Linked DNA regions of Homo sapiens: region 2 is linked to region 1. Evidence: promoter capture Hi-C in human tissues and cell types (Jung and others, 2019). All regions are on one chromosome and are shown on one strand. Each heading gives the region's core, a stretch centred on a gene start or on the middle of the fragment in contact. The rest is flanking DNA. Distances are from core to core; before and after follow the strand shown. Region 1 holds the start of RSPH1 (radial spoke head component 1). Region 2 overlaps NDUFV3 (NADH:ubiquinone oxidoreductase subunit V3).

Region 1 (7,283 bases), core at 616-3,115:
CAATTCTTGCCCTTTTCTAGCACTGTTTGGACCACTAATTCCTGCCTAGAATATAAGGTAAAAATCTGCGACCTCACAGATTTGTTTCAGGGTTAGTTTACATCAAAATGTACAAAAGTCCCCTCCTTCTATCCAAGAGGCTTCCCAATACACCCAACACTGAGCCGCTGGGGTGGCTGAATAAGACAGAAATCCTTTAAAATGACCCCAAATGTGATCTGAACCTAAAAATTATAGGCACTAAAAAGTTACAAATCAGTGGGGCCATTTGAGGAGACAAACTAGAAATCTTGCTGGTCAAGTGTTGCAGGTTGGGTTCACCTAGAAACAGACCCTGAACAAGTGATTTTTTTTTTTTTTTGAGACAGAGTCGCTCTGTTGCCCAGGCTGGAGTGCAGTGGCGTGATCTCGGCTCACTGCAACCTCTGCCTCCCGGGTTCAAGCCATTCTCCTGCCTCAGCCTCCCGAGTAGCTGGGATTACAGGTGCCCGCCACCATGCCCGGCTAATTTTTTGTATTTTAGTAGAGACAGGGTTTCACCGTGTTGCCCAGGCTGGTCTCAAACTCCTGAGCTCAGGCAATCTGCCCACCTCGGCCTCCCAAAGTGCTGGGATTACAGGTGTGAGCCACCGCGCCTGGCCTGATTTTTTTAAGTGCTCTCCTGGGAGAAAGTAGTAAAGAGGGCAGGGAAGTAGACATGAAAGGGCAGGCAGCTAAGGAAGGATGCCTTTGCAGGTGAAGTCCCAGACTTGGCCTAATCCAACAGGGACTCTGGGGGCATCAATCGCACTGCAGACTTTGTCCTGCTTCTTGCACTAGCTACTGGCTGTCTGGCCGGATGTGAATTTCAGGCACTTCTGGCTCTCCATACTGGGCAGGTAGTTCCAGCGCACAGAGGTGATAGCTTGAGTAGCAAATCAGGCGGAAGCTGGGAGATGAGTGCCCAGAGCTAGCAAAAAGGTCTGGGCAGGCACTGACAGCACCACTGCAGAGTCGCTAGATTTTTCAGTTAATTCTGAAAGTACCTCAACTCTGTACTGTGCATGCAGACCATAGTGGCTGAGGTTCCCTATCTGTCAGCCATGGAGAGGTCACTCTCTGGAGTAGGGAGGAACTACTCTCTGGGTGATAGAAATATTCCCACACAGAACCCAGCTCACAGGCTGGATGTGCCCTCTTTCTCCTCTCTGCTGCCTAACTCAGGAAATAACTCCAAAGACCTGGGTCAGTTCAGATGGGGACTGAAGAAAGCACATGTGAGGATACGCCTATAAGGTAATATCTTCAGGAACCCTCTCCTGAGCCCAGGGCCTCCTCAGCATTTCTTGGAGGCTGCCAGGAAGCAACTATCCTCCATGCATCTAAATGCCGGGGGAGCAAATCTCAGCTACAGAAATGACTTATTCAAGGGCAGTATGGCAGCGTGGGATGATCTGCTCATCCGAGAAAACTGCCTCGATGGGAATTAACACAGGGAGGAGGAAACTTCCAAAGCCTTCCGCTGGGAAATCTTTGCCTTTAATGGGAGGCAGGATGGGGGTGGGGGAAGAACGAGGCGGCATGTGGTAACCAGACGTCACAGCGTTTCACTTTTCACCATCAACTTCCAGGACGCACGCAGGTGTGTCTGGCGTGGCCTTCGTCCCTGCCGGGGATCCTGGGGAGCTGTGGCTCAGACCTCTGGTTTCTGCGCCTCCTCACTCTCCAAACCCAACCTCGAGGTTCCCCCGCCGCTGCGCACCCTGGGAAGCCCTTTCTCACCAGGAGCTCTCACCCCAATATCATTCTCTCCCTCCTCCTCCAACTCCTCCGAGCCCAGGTCCGACATGGTCTCGCCCCAGCCTGGATCACAGCCGCAGCGCCTCTAGCAGGTGGGTAGCAACCGCCTCCACCGCCGCGTCCCGCGTCGCCATGGAGACGCGGCCGGTCCCGCCTCCCTCCCAGCCCGGAAGATGGGGAGCGGGGACAGGCGACGCGGACGAAGCGGGAGGAGCCACTGGCAGCCTTTGCGTACTGTCATAGCAACGGGAAGGGCACCTCGACCAATCACCGCCCGGGAATACGGAGGGGCGGGGCGGAAGGGACGAGGTGGAGCCAGTGGCAGCACTCTGGTGCCGTCATAGCAACGAGGGGCCGCTTCGGCCAATCACTGCTCGGGAAGCGAGGGGGCGGGGACTGGGCAGGGCCTGAGCGGGTTCTGTGCCTGGCTGCCCACCGGCTCTCTGACCTGGACCTCGCCGTCGCTGGCCCCTGAAATCCATCACTTTTGTCGGCTGTTCTGTGACGCCACAACGAGGAGCCACCTGGGTACTGGGCCCTCAAGAGGAAGGACGCGGGAAACGCGTCCGGGCCAACTCTCGAGAGGGTTTCACCCCTGCCCAGTGCGGGCACTGCCCGCTCCCTTCCGCCCCCAGGCCTCGCAGGCCCCTCCGGGGATGCTGCCCACCCCCACTTACCTTTCTAGGCTCTGCTGACCCTTCGGGATTCGCGGCTAGCTGTGATGTGTCCGCCAAGATCTCTTCTCTTGTCTGTAAACAACTTCACTCTCAAGGAGGCAGCTCTGGCCTCTCAGCAGGTGCGGCCTACAGTGATGTCCGTCCGGGTTTTACATCCTTCCCCGACCTCGACATGAGTCCCAGCCCCCTCGGGCCTCTGACTCTCAGGTGTCCCCTACGATCGCCGTCCTCTCCTCTCGCTCCTGGCTCCCCTACACTGTCACACACCCACACAATCACAGACGCACACGCATGTACACGTGCAGGCTTGGAAATCTGCTTTACCTGACGCACTCCGCCTGCCGAAGGCCCCTCACATCTCCCATTTCCTCTGCCATCATCCCAGACTGCAAAGCTGTGTTATTTGTTGTTGCTGCAGGAGCTGGGGAGGAGTGACTGAATAACTATAGGATTTGGTCTTGATGGGAGAATCCCAGAAGCCAAATCCACGCGGTGAATAAGCTGCTGATCTTCCAGAGCACACATCCCCTAGAGATTCTTCCCAATGCTAATATGAAAGGTTACAACCATAACCCATCATCAGGCCCAAATATATTACTTACTGAATAAATACACAAGTTACAACAACACACGAGATTCCAAAATTATGTCGTTTTTTAGATGCAAAGATAAAAATGTTGTAAACACCAAAATTTAACAGCTTTTCTTATGGGGAAAAGTGGGGAGTTAGGGATAACAGATGATTATTATTTTCTTCTCTACATATTGGCAGTTACCCAGTTACTACAATTAAGCATGTCCTATTTTTATAATAAAATGCCAGAAGCATTTTAAATGTTAGAAATCTAGAATGGTAACATAAGTATATGCAAATAAATACTCGTTTTTTACATTTAAAATGTCAGAAATTTAGCTTTCAAATTTGTCCTAACAATGACAGTAACCAGTGTTTACTAAGTTCTGACACTGTGTGTGGGCACTGTTTTAAGAATTTTATGAGTTATCTTATTAAATCCTCACTATCATTCCTCCATTGAACATCTAAGGAAAGGGAGTTATAGGGGGTTATAAACTAAAAATAACCTCCTAAGCCCCACCACAGCCAACTGAATGGACCCCTCTTGGCCAAGAGGGCCCCAGAAACCTTAAAAACTGCGTTCTCAGCCATGATGGGAAGGGAGGTCGAACATGCCTCACTAATACCCTTGTGCAGTTTAGACACAACAACTAACAAGCATTAATGTTAAAATAGAGATCATAAGACTGACAGAATGGACGCTGTGGCAGTAAGATACCAACTTACAAACAGGACCTAAGGCCATGCCAGGCATGAGTTAAGTCATGCATCCCTACACTTAAAAGAATAAACTATATTTTAACTACCTGGAGAAGGTCTTATGACTCGTGTTTTACATCCTGTACTTGAGCAAACAATCTTACTGTGAATCTCTCAAATCGTATCATGAGTTCCTCAGACTGTTGATGTACTAATTAATACGTAAACTACTGACACTGAAAAGGATACTGATTTGTTTCTGAATCATGACGTTTCACTGATTGTCTTGTGCATATGCAGAAAACATTTTAGCCTGTATGTTGTCATCTGTAGCCAATGACTGTAACCTCTATATTGTCCCTCCAATGAAAAAAGACAACTGCAATATGAGGAGTCCCCTTCCCATTCCTCAACTTTCTTATAAAAGCACTGCAACTTGTAACAGACTTTGGAACACACCCAACTTTGTTGGTGTGTCTTCCCCATTCAATCTTCAAATTTGGCTTTCAATAAGCCTTTATCAATTTCCGCCTCAACAGCCTTAACTTTGGTCGACAGCAGTTAAGATCCTTACCCAAGATCATACAGCTAGTGGGATTCAAATCAAGCCAGCTGACCCAAGAGCAACTGTTGCCCATCACTATACTGCCTCCCAGATCTGTGATATAAAGAAATAACTATAGTTTTCTGGCAGTGACTAAACCATCTACCAAGCAGAGGACCACTAGTTCAAATGCCTTGGATTGCAAACACCAGAGAGTGGCTTAAGCAAACCACATGGTTAAGCAAACCCTGTTCTGGATCACATCATTAGCAGCTAGACGTCTAGCTATAGCTATTAAATCCTAAGGTTTACAATTTGATTTCTATCCCATACGAATTAGCCAGGGTCTTCCCTCCCAAATCTTTCAGTCAATCTATAGTAATTTCACCACACTGTGGGTTTGGCAATTATCCAAATAATTGACACCAAAGGCAAGAAGGGGTGAACAACAGGATGGGCCTCCCGGCATCTCCTGCAGCAGCACCTGGACTGGATTCTAAATTCCTCCTTCCAGAAAGAAGCTGCATCCCAGCCCAGATCCAGCTGAGAGCCACAGCTGCCAAGAGGCAGTCGGAGCTCTGGGCACCTCTCTGTGCACCCAGGAAGCCCCAGGAGGACTTCATCAAGCCAAGTCGATGCCTCACTCAGAGCCCCAGGATCCCTGACTCCTAACCCCACAGTGACCTGGAAATGCCTGGTGATGCCAGAAGCAGCGCTTTCCAATTCTGAAGGCCCTCAAAATGCTTGTTCAGCCCACCTTCCTCCTTTCCTGGGGCGTGGGAGTGGTGGGGAGATGAGAGGCAGAAAGATGAGGACATCATCAGGAGGTTTTTCCTTACTGGAAAATGAGAGGAAATCCTCTTTCACTACTTAAAAATCAAAAGGGGCTGTCCATATTCCTCTGGCAGGGGTCTCCCATCATCCCCCGCGAGGCATTCCCATTATCCCCTGCGGAGCTTTCCCATCATCCACAGAGGCCCTTCCCATAACCCCCAAGTGGGAAGTTCGCGCAAGTGCGGCTCTGCAGGGAGGAGGGAGGGCCGAGGGGAAGGCCCTCGAGAGAGTGGAGGGCAACAGTGGCCACGGTTCCTCTGTACTTCGTTTCTTCCGTAAGAAATGATCTTCTTGTCCTTCTTAAGTATAAATGGAGCGATCCATTTCCTTTTACCCATTAACCCCTTCAAAAAGAAGAAAAACAGTCCCAGGCTGGCCATGGTTGATCTCTGCAGGGGCGCTGGTCAGGGTGCCTTCTGCTTCCTGGTGGGATGGCCTAGGCCGGGGAAACTGTTGAAACCACCCTGGGGCTGCCTTCTGTATTTTCCACAACCTTCCAGGCCCACCTCCCAGCTGGAGGCCCTGCAGCTTGGCAGTTGCCATGGCGACTGAGTCCCTAAGTGTGTCTCTTCTGAGCTCTCCTGGACAGTGTGGAGAAAAGGCCTTAAGAACTGAGGGGCTTCAGTAAAATGCAAACAGATTTTTTTTTTGTAGGCACTGTTCAGATAAAAAGCAGGGACTTTCAACAAAATGAGTTCAGGTCCATCTTAACTATAGAACTATGAGGTTGTTTATTAGAATAATTGTACTCTGGTAAATTTACCAATTTCATATATATGCATATTTATAAACAAACATATTAGAGTATATAGATAGAAAAAGTTCTATCTACATGTAGAATCGAAAACTTTTTAAAATAGTGTTGGTAGTATCACACATTGCCATTTAGTGGATAGAGACAGACCCGAGATTGGAGCCCTAGCTCCGTATACTTCTTTCTGAAGTCAGTCTACTCATCTGTAAAATGGGCTGTTGTGAGGTCAAAATTAGATATTCATAATGAGAGTAGCATAGTGCCTAGCACAAAGTAAAGCACTTAGTAAATGGGAGCTATTACTATTAATTGTACTGCTGTTAATCTTACAATAGGTTAAGCACCTTTTGTCTATCAGTATGTTTGGGGGGGAATTTTAACTCAAGTTTATCTTAATCGTTTTCAGTCGTGTTTTTTTCTTGAAAAGAATCAAACTGCCAAAGATGATTCTGTCAGTTGTTTGTGACAATCAGAAGTTAGTCTGTGACGAACAGATTAGTTTTAATGCTCATATTCATTAGCACTAATATACATAAGGGTGGGGAGAGACTGAAGCTTCTGGAAATATATAGACAGGTAGATTCTTAAGCGTAAGTAGGTATTTGAACTGTTTGTGGATTATGTCTCATAAAATTGGCACCCAGCAAGGAGGAAAATGCCAGATACACACACGCCCATACCTGAGGTATGTAGGTCAATGGAAGGCTATTGAAACACAGTTGTCAAGAGAGAAATGTAAAGTATTTTTCACCCAGGAAGTGAGATTATTCAGTGATGCATCAAAACCAGTAGGGAAAACAGTTTAGTGGACACCAGTGTGGAGACGAGATGTCAGAAAATTGGATAGACTCGAATTTCACGTTGGGTAGCAACTCAAGGACATAGCTCAGTGCTTGGCACATAGTAAGTGCTCAACCAACACAGGTTTATCAAATTAAATGTTAGATATTATTTTGCAACAGAGCTGTGCTTTATGCAGCAGTAGGAAAAGAGAAAAATTGACGTGAAATTTTTTCTTTTTCTTGTTTTTTTATTCTTAAATCACACTCCATTTTCCGAGGGCTCTCTCAGGATATCAGTTGCTTAACTACGTCTGAGTGTCTTCTAGGTCGAGTACTAGGGGATTACAAGGAAATGAGAAAGAAATTACAGACCCATTGGGGGGCAAATTCTACATTAATCTACACTGTTAAAAAAATTTACCAGGGCCGGGAGCGGTGGCTCACGCCTGTAATCCCAGCACTTTGGGAGGCCAAGGTGGGTGGATTGCCTGAGCTCAGGAGTTCAAGACCAGCTTGGCCAACATGGTGAAACCCTGTCTCTACTAAAAATACAAAAAATTAGCTGGGCATGGTGGCGGGCGCCTGTAATCCCAGCCACTCAGGAGGTTGAGGCAGGAGAATCGCTTGAACCCGGGAG
Region 2 (6,859 bases), core at 576-3,075, 400 kb after region 1:
TGTAATTCCAGCTACTTGGGAGGCTGAGGCAAGAGAATCGCTGGAACCCAGGAGGCGGAGGTTGCAGTGAGCCAAGATTGAGCCACTGCACTCCAGCCTGGGAGTCAGAGTGAGACCCTGTCTCCAAAAAAAAAAAAAAGAAAAGAAAAAAGAAGAAACGTGGTATTTTGTAGGTTAATAAATAATTGGAGACTACAAAAAAAATGCACTGGAGAACGTCTGGTTGAAGTTTTATTAAACCAAATATTAATAGTGATTGTCCTTGAACTCGGGTGTTTTCTTCTTGCAGCCTTTTTGTATTTTACAAAATGTCCATAATATACATACATTATGAAAACTGTAATAACCATTAGAAGTATACCATGTGAATGTTTTGCACTTACATGTAGTGGTAATATGTAATATTCATATGCACGGTACCTACATGCACACAATCCCAGCACTTTGGTTGTTTTTCTTTTTTTTTTTTTTTTCCTGAGACAGTCTCACTCTGTTGTCCAGGCTGGAGTGCAGTGGCGTGATCTCAGCTCACTGCAACCTCCACCTCCTGAGTCTAAGCAATTCTCCTGCCTCAGCCTCTGCAGTACCTGGAACTACAGGCATGCACCACCGTGCCTGGCTAAATTTTTTTTTTTTTTTTTTTTTTTGCGACAGAGTCTTGCTCTGTCGCCCAGGCTAGAGTGCAGTGGCACGATCTTGGCTCACTGCAAGCTTCACCTCCTGGGTCCACGCCATTCTCCTGCCTCAGCCTCCCAAGTAGCTGGGACTACAGGCACCCGCCACCATGCCCGGCTAATTTTTTGTATTTTTAGTAGAGACGGGGTTTCACCGTGTTAGCCAGGATAGTCTCGATCTCCTGACCTCATGATCCACACGCCTCGGCCTCCCAAAGTGCTAGGATTACAGTCGCACCGCGCCCGGCCTTTTTTTTGTATTTTTAGTAGAGACGGGGTTGTCCAGGCTGGTCTCAGAACTCCTGACCTCAAGTGATCCGCCCACCTCAGCCTCCCAAAGTGCTGGGATTATAGGTGTAAGCCACCGCACCTGGCCAATCCCAGCACTTCAGGAGGCCGGGGCTTCAGGATCGCTTGAGGCCAGGAGTTTGAGGAAGCCAGGAGTTTGAGACCAACCTGGGCCACGTAGCCAGATCTCGTCTCTATAAAAAATAAAAAATATTAGCCAGGCATGGTAGTATGTGCCTGTAGTCCTGGCTATGTCAGAGTATCGCTTGGACCCAGGAGTTGAAGGCTGCAGTGAGCCATGATTGTGCCACTGCACTCCAGCCTGGACGACTGAGAGAGACCCCTGACTCAAAAAATATATATATATATTCATATATAGTACCAGCTATTATAATGGCATTACTCTAAACATCCATATTCATTAATTCTTTTGTCAGACTATGCTCCAGGAAGCCCAGGTGTTTCGAGGACTTGCTTCTACGGTTTCTTTGTCTGCGGAATCAGGGAAGAGTGAAAAGGGTCAGCCACAGAATTCCAAGAAGCAAAGTCCACCAAAAAGTAAGATTTTGATGGTAGTCATAAGGGAAAGAGAATGCAAAAAGAAAATAGATTAGTCAGCCTTCGAAGCACGACAGTGAGTTTTACTAGCTACGTAATTTATGCTTCTTCCTTTTCAGCAGTGTCCAGATTATACAAGACACAAGATCTATAACAGATTTTAGACCAAACATTTCAGTCATGTCGTAGTCTTTGACTGAATATTTAGCCCTGAAATGGTTTTTCCTGTATTTTCTAAATGCCAAACCCCAACCTGAAGTGAGTGATGCCTTGGTAAAGGCTCTGTGGCATTTAGATGGCCCCGGCACAGTGAGCTTGCCAGAAAGCCACCTTACTTTCCATCCTCTGATGCTGAGTTGTTTGTTTTGTTTTGTTTTGTTTTGTTTTGTTTTGTTTCAGTCTCTTTGAGACCCATCTGTGGTTTTCCAGGCTTTGCTTAATCCCAGTCCAGGACTAGCTGGGACTACAGGCATGTGCCACCACGTCTGGCTAATTTTTTGTATTTTTAGTAGAGACAGGGTTTCACAATGTTAGCCAGGATGGTCTCAATCTCCTGACCTTGTTATCCACCCGCCTCGGCCTCCCAAAGTGTTGGGATTACAGGCGTGAGCCACTGCGCCCGGCCTAAATCTTTAATTCTTTTTTTTGAGATGGAGTCCTGCTCTGTTGCCCCTGCTGGAGTGCAGTGGCGCAATCTCGGCTCACTACAACCTCCGCCTCCTGGGTTCACACCATTCTCCTGCCTCGGCCTCCTGAGTAGCTGGGACTACAGGCGCCCACCACCATGCCCAGCTAATTTTTTACATTTTTAGTAGAGGTGGGGTTTCACCATGTTAGCCGGGATGGTCTTGATCTCCTGACCTTGTGATCCGCCCGCCTTGGCCTCCCAGAGTGCTGGAATTACAGGCGTGAGCCACCGTGCCCAGTCCTAAATCTTTAATCATTATATGGGGTTGTAGAATAGTAATTGAGTTTGGTCTTATTTTCATCAATATACTATTTCCTCAGTTTGAATGTTTGAAAGTATTTAGATTCTTTTGTTTTCTTCCTCCTTGGTCTGTGCACAGAACACTGGTAAGTTTTTAAATATTTGTATTTATACAAAGAGAGTGCCAGCCCCTGACTGCCTCTCACAGTGTGTGGACTTGAGGCTTGGATTCCACGGGAATGTTATTTAGTTTTGTGCTATGACTCCTGCCTCGTTTTTCAATCATTGTTTTTTTCTCTTCTTCCTTTTATGTTATTTGTTTTAAGAGAGGGGCTCTGGCTCTCTCTCCCAGGCTGGAGTGCAGTGGCACAGTCATAGCTCACTACAGCCTCAAACTCCTGAGCTCAAGCAATCCTCCCACCTCAGCCTCCTGAGTAGCTGAGACTACAGGCACATACCACCACTCCTGGCATATCCCTGGCATGTTTTGTTGATGTTGTTGTTTATTTTTTGAAATAGAGTCTTGCTCTGTCACCCAGGCTGTAGTACAGAGGCACAATCATAGGTCACTGCAGCCTCGACCTTCCAAGCTCAAGTGATCCTCCCACCTCAGCCCCTGGAGTAGCCAGGACTACAGGTGCACACCATCACACCCTGGCTAATATTTTAATTTTCCATACAGATGAAGTCTCACTGTATTGCCTAGACTGGTCTTGAATTCCTGGGCTCAAGCAATCTCCCTGCCTCAAACTCCCATAGTATTGGGATTACAGGTGTGAGCCACTGTGTCCAGCCTACCTGGCATGTTTTTGACATTCTCTAAATGTTTACTGATGAACAATTAGTTGAATTTCATTGCTAACATTATCCTCTCCTTTGGTGAATTTTAGTCTGTGTCTGCAATCCTACATCATAGACTTATGAATTTGGATTAAATGGATTTTAAAATATCATGGCAGAGCCAAAGAGCCCCCTTTTTAGATACATGCGTCTGTGTGTGAGTGGAAACGGAGTGCTTCATTCTGTGGCCATCTGGGTTGTGGTTTGGGGAGGGGAACACTGACCTGGGAGCGAGCCTTGGGCTCTCATGGAGCTCCTGCCTCTGTCCTTGACGGGCCCTGCAGGCCTCTGAGCCTCGGTTCCTTTGTGCTTAAGCAGGATGATCATGCCAGCCTTGCTGGGTGGTTGTGAGACTGGCTGCAGTGGGATACACGTAGCTACTGCACACACTGCAGAGAGCTTTCAGGTGGGAGGACAGTTTTCAGAACTAAGCTCATCAATACACAGAACAGTTGTATCTTGTTTTTTTTTGAGACAGAGTTTTGCTCTTTATGCCCAGGCTGGAGTGCAATGGCGTGATCTCAGCTCACCACAACCTCTCCGCCTCCCTGATTCAAGCAATTCTCCTGCCTCAGCCTCCCAAGTAACTGGGATTACAGGCATGCACCACCACGCCTGGCTAATTTTTTGTTTTTTTGTTTTGTTTTTGCGATAAAGTCTCACTCTGTCGCCAGGCTAGAGTGCAGTGGCACGATCTCGGCTCACTGCAACCTCCGCCTCCTGGGTTCAAGCCATTCTCCTGCCCCATCCTCCCGAATAGCTGGGACTACAGGTGCCCGCCACCAAACCCGGCAAATTTTTCTGTTTTTAGTAGAGACGGGGTTTCACCATGTTGGCCAGGTTGGTCTCCATCTCTTGACCTCGTGATCCGTCCGCCTTGGCCTCCCAAAGTGCTGGGATTACAGGCGTGAGCCACTGCACCCAGCCAATTTTTTGTATTTTTTAGTAGAGACAGGGTTTCTGCATGTTGGCCAGGCTGGTTTTGAACTCCCGACCTCAGATGATCCTCCTGCCTCAACCTCCCAAAGTTGCTGGGATTACAGGCATGAGCCACCGCACCTGGCCATGTATCTCATAATTTTTAAAAGAATTCCTGTACAGGCTGGGCGTGGGGGTTCACGCCTATAATCCCAGAACTTTGGGAAGCTGAGGCGGGAGGATCAGTTGAGTTCAGCAGTTTGAGACAAGCCTGAGCAACATAGTGAAAACCTATCTCTAGAAAAAACTTTAAAAAGTAGCTGGGTATGGTAGCGTGCACCTGTGGTCCTAGTTACTCAGGAGGCTGAGACGAGAGGATCATTTGAGCCCAGGAGGTCGAGGTTGTAGTGAATTATGATTGCACCACTGCTGCACTCCATCCTGGGTGATAGAGTGAGACCCTGTCTCGACAAAAATAAATACTGAGTCTGGGTATGGTGGCTCACACCTGTAATCCCAGCACTTTTGCAGGCCAAGGCGGGCCGATCACTTGAGGTCAGGAGTTCGAGAACAGCCTGGCCAATATGGTGAAACCCCTGTCTCTACTAAAAATACAAAAATTAGCTGGGCATGGTGGCGGACGCCTGTAATCCCAGTCGCTCAGGAGGCTGAGGCAGGAGAATCGCTTGGACCCAGGAGGCAGAGGTTGCAATGAGCTGAGATTGTGCCATTGCACTGCTTCTTGGGTGTCACAGCGACACTCCATCTCAAAACAAACAAACAAAAAATCCCTGTACAAAGAAAAATAAATAATGCTTGTAAATGGATACGTGCAGGCCCATATTTTCCCCTGAAGTGTTGGTAGTTGGTAAGTGTAAGATACAGAGGAACTTTTCACCCTCCATGGCACATTGCCAGATCAAACCTTTCTCAGCCAGAAGTGGCTTTGGAAGCTCTAACAGAAGTTTCCTGCATGCAAGTGAGGTACCCAAAGCTCTCATCCTTGGAGTCACATCTCTAGTCAGAGTGTCTGCCACAGGACAAGACCCTGGCGCGATGGGACATGCTGTGCCTTATTTCATCAGAGGTGTCCAGCTTTCCCCAGCACATGCGTTCTCCCTGAGGAAGGCTGCCGGCACAGATATCAGGGGCTGGATGTTCTTGGAGGTGCACCTTGGGGAACCGCTGGGCTCTCTAGCTTGCTGTTTCCTTGAATCCAGTACCCAGGCCTAATTTTGCAACAGTCAGTAATAAATTGTTGACTGAGTAATTTCTGTGTAGCTTTTTGAAGAGTATGTCCAGAAGCCACAGTTAATTATCCATTTGAAGTCCTTGTTTCAGTTTTAAAAGTAAGGAATATCTGGAAATAGAAATTTCACGTAATTTCTATTTACACACAGTGTAAATAGTGGCTCAGTAAAAAAATAGGCACAGTGGCTCACTTCTGTAATCCCAGCACTTTGGGAGGCTGAGGTGGGTGGATCACCTGAGGTCAGGAGTTCGAGACCAGCCTGACCAACATTGTGAAAACCTGTATCTACTAAAAATACAAAAAAAAATTAGCCGGGCGTGGTGGTGCATGCTTGTAGTCCCAGCTACTCGGGAGGCTGAGGCAGGAGAATCACTTGAACCCAGGAGGTGGAGGTTGCAGTGAGCCAAGATCACGCCATTGCACTCTAGCCTGACCCAAAAGAGTGAAACTCCATCTCAAAAAAAAATTACCCAGGCGTGGTGGCACACAACTGTAGTACCAGCTACTCGGGAGGCTGAGGCAGGAAGATCACTTGAGCCCAGGAGGCGGAGGTTTCACTGAGCCGAGATTTGCACCACTGCACTCCAGCCTGGGTGACTGAGCTAGACTCCATCTCAAAAAAAAAAAAAAGAAAACGAAATTTTACGTATCAAATTATAACAAGCAGTGCCAGGCACTGTTCTAAGCACTCTTCCCATATCTCATCTTCCCCAGTCCTCAACAACCCAGGGAGTAGATGCTACTGCTATCCCCATGTCATAGACAAGGAAGTTGAGGTCTGGAGGGACTGACCTGCCTGAGTCATGCAGTGTCCACACAGGTGTCAGCGGAGAAGCCTGGATTTGAACCCAGGCATTCTGGCAGTGCGGTTTATATTTTAATCACTGTGCTGTCTTCCTTCTGAAAATTCTTGATTCTCATGTGTTTATTTAAAAATAAAATGCCGGGCACGGTGGCTCACGCCTGTAATCCCAGCACTTTGGGAGGCCAAGGCGGGCAGATCACCTGAGGTCGGGAGTTCGAGTCCAGCCTGACCAACATGGAGAAACCCTGTCTCTACTAAAAATACAAAATTAGCTGGGTGTGGTGGCGCATGCCTGTAATCCCAGCTATTCGGGAGGCTGAGGCAGCAGAATTGCTTGAACCTGGGAGGCAGAGGTTGCGGTGACTGGAGATCGTGCCATTGCACTCCAGCCTGGGCAACAAGAGTGAAACTCCATTTCAAAAGAAGAATTAGATAAATAAATAAATAAAATAAGTAAAAATAAAAAAAAACTTTTTATAGTGAAACACTTGTAGAGGTTTCCATTACCATATAAAATTTGAGTAACTTTATTCTCTAATGTAATGTTTAAATGCACCTCTGTTTCTGAATGTGCCTTGTTTCCAAAGTTAGTTTTG

Evidence for each region. Contacts are between HindIII fragments. The study calls those that stand out against the background at their distance.
Region 2: a contact is called between a fragment that was not itself captured here and the fragment with the promoter of RSPH1 in region 1, in 1 of the 25 tissues and cell types used here (dorsolateral prefrontal cortex).

Annotation. Positions count from the first base shown.
Region 1 is chr21:42,494,359-42,501,641 of GRCh38, forward strand. It overlaps RSPH1 (radial spoke head component 1), which reads right to left and starts at 1,866. Exons shown (of 9, transcript NM_080860.4): 1 at 1,775-1,866. The coding sequence starts at 1,828. It overlaps RSPH1-DT (RSPH1 divergent transcript), which reads left to right and starts at 2,181. Exons shown (of 3, transcript NR_135518.1): 1 at 2,181-2,307; 2 at 2,465-2,575; 3 at 2,875-3,085. It also overlaps a transcript of SLC37A1 not described here. RefSeq lists silencers at 1,823-1,942, 1,973-2,212 and an enhancer at 4,948-5,448. The HindIII fragment of the contact is 9,831 bases long and covers 1-7,283 here.
Region 2 is chr21:42,895,528-42,902,386 of GRCh38, forward strand. NDUFV3 (NADH:ubiquinone oxidoreductase subunit V3) reads left to right here. Exons shown (of 4, transcript NM_021075.4): 2 at 1,400-1,520. Among named protein-coding and RNA genes, the nearest start is that of NDUFV3, 5.6 kb to the left of the region's middle. The HindIII fragment of the contact is 5,741 bases long and covers 1-4,696 here.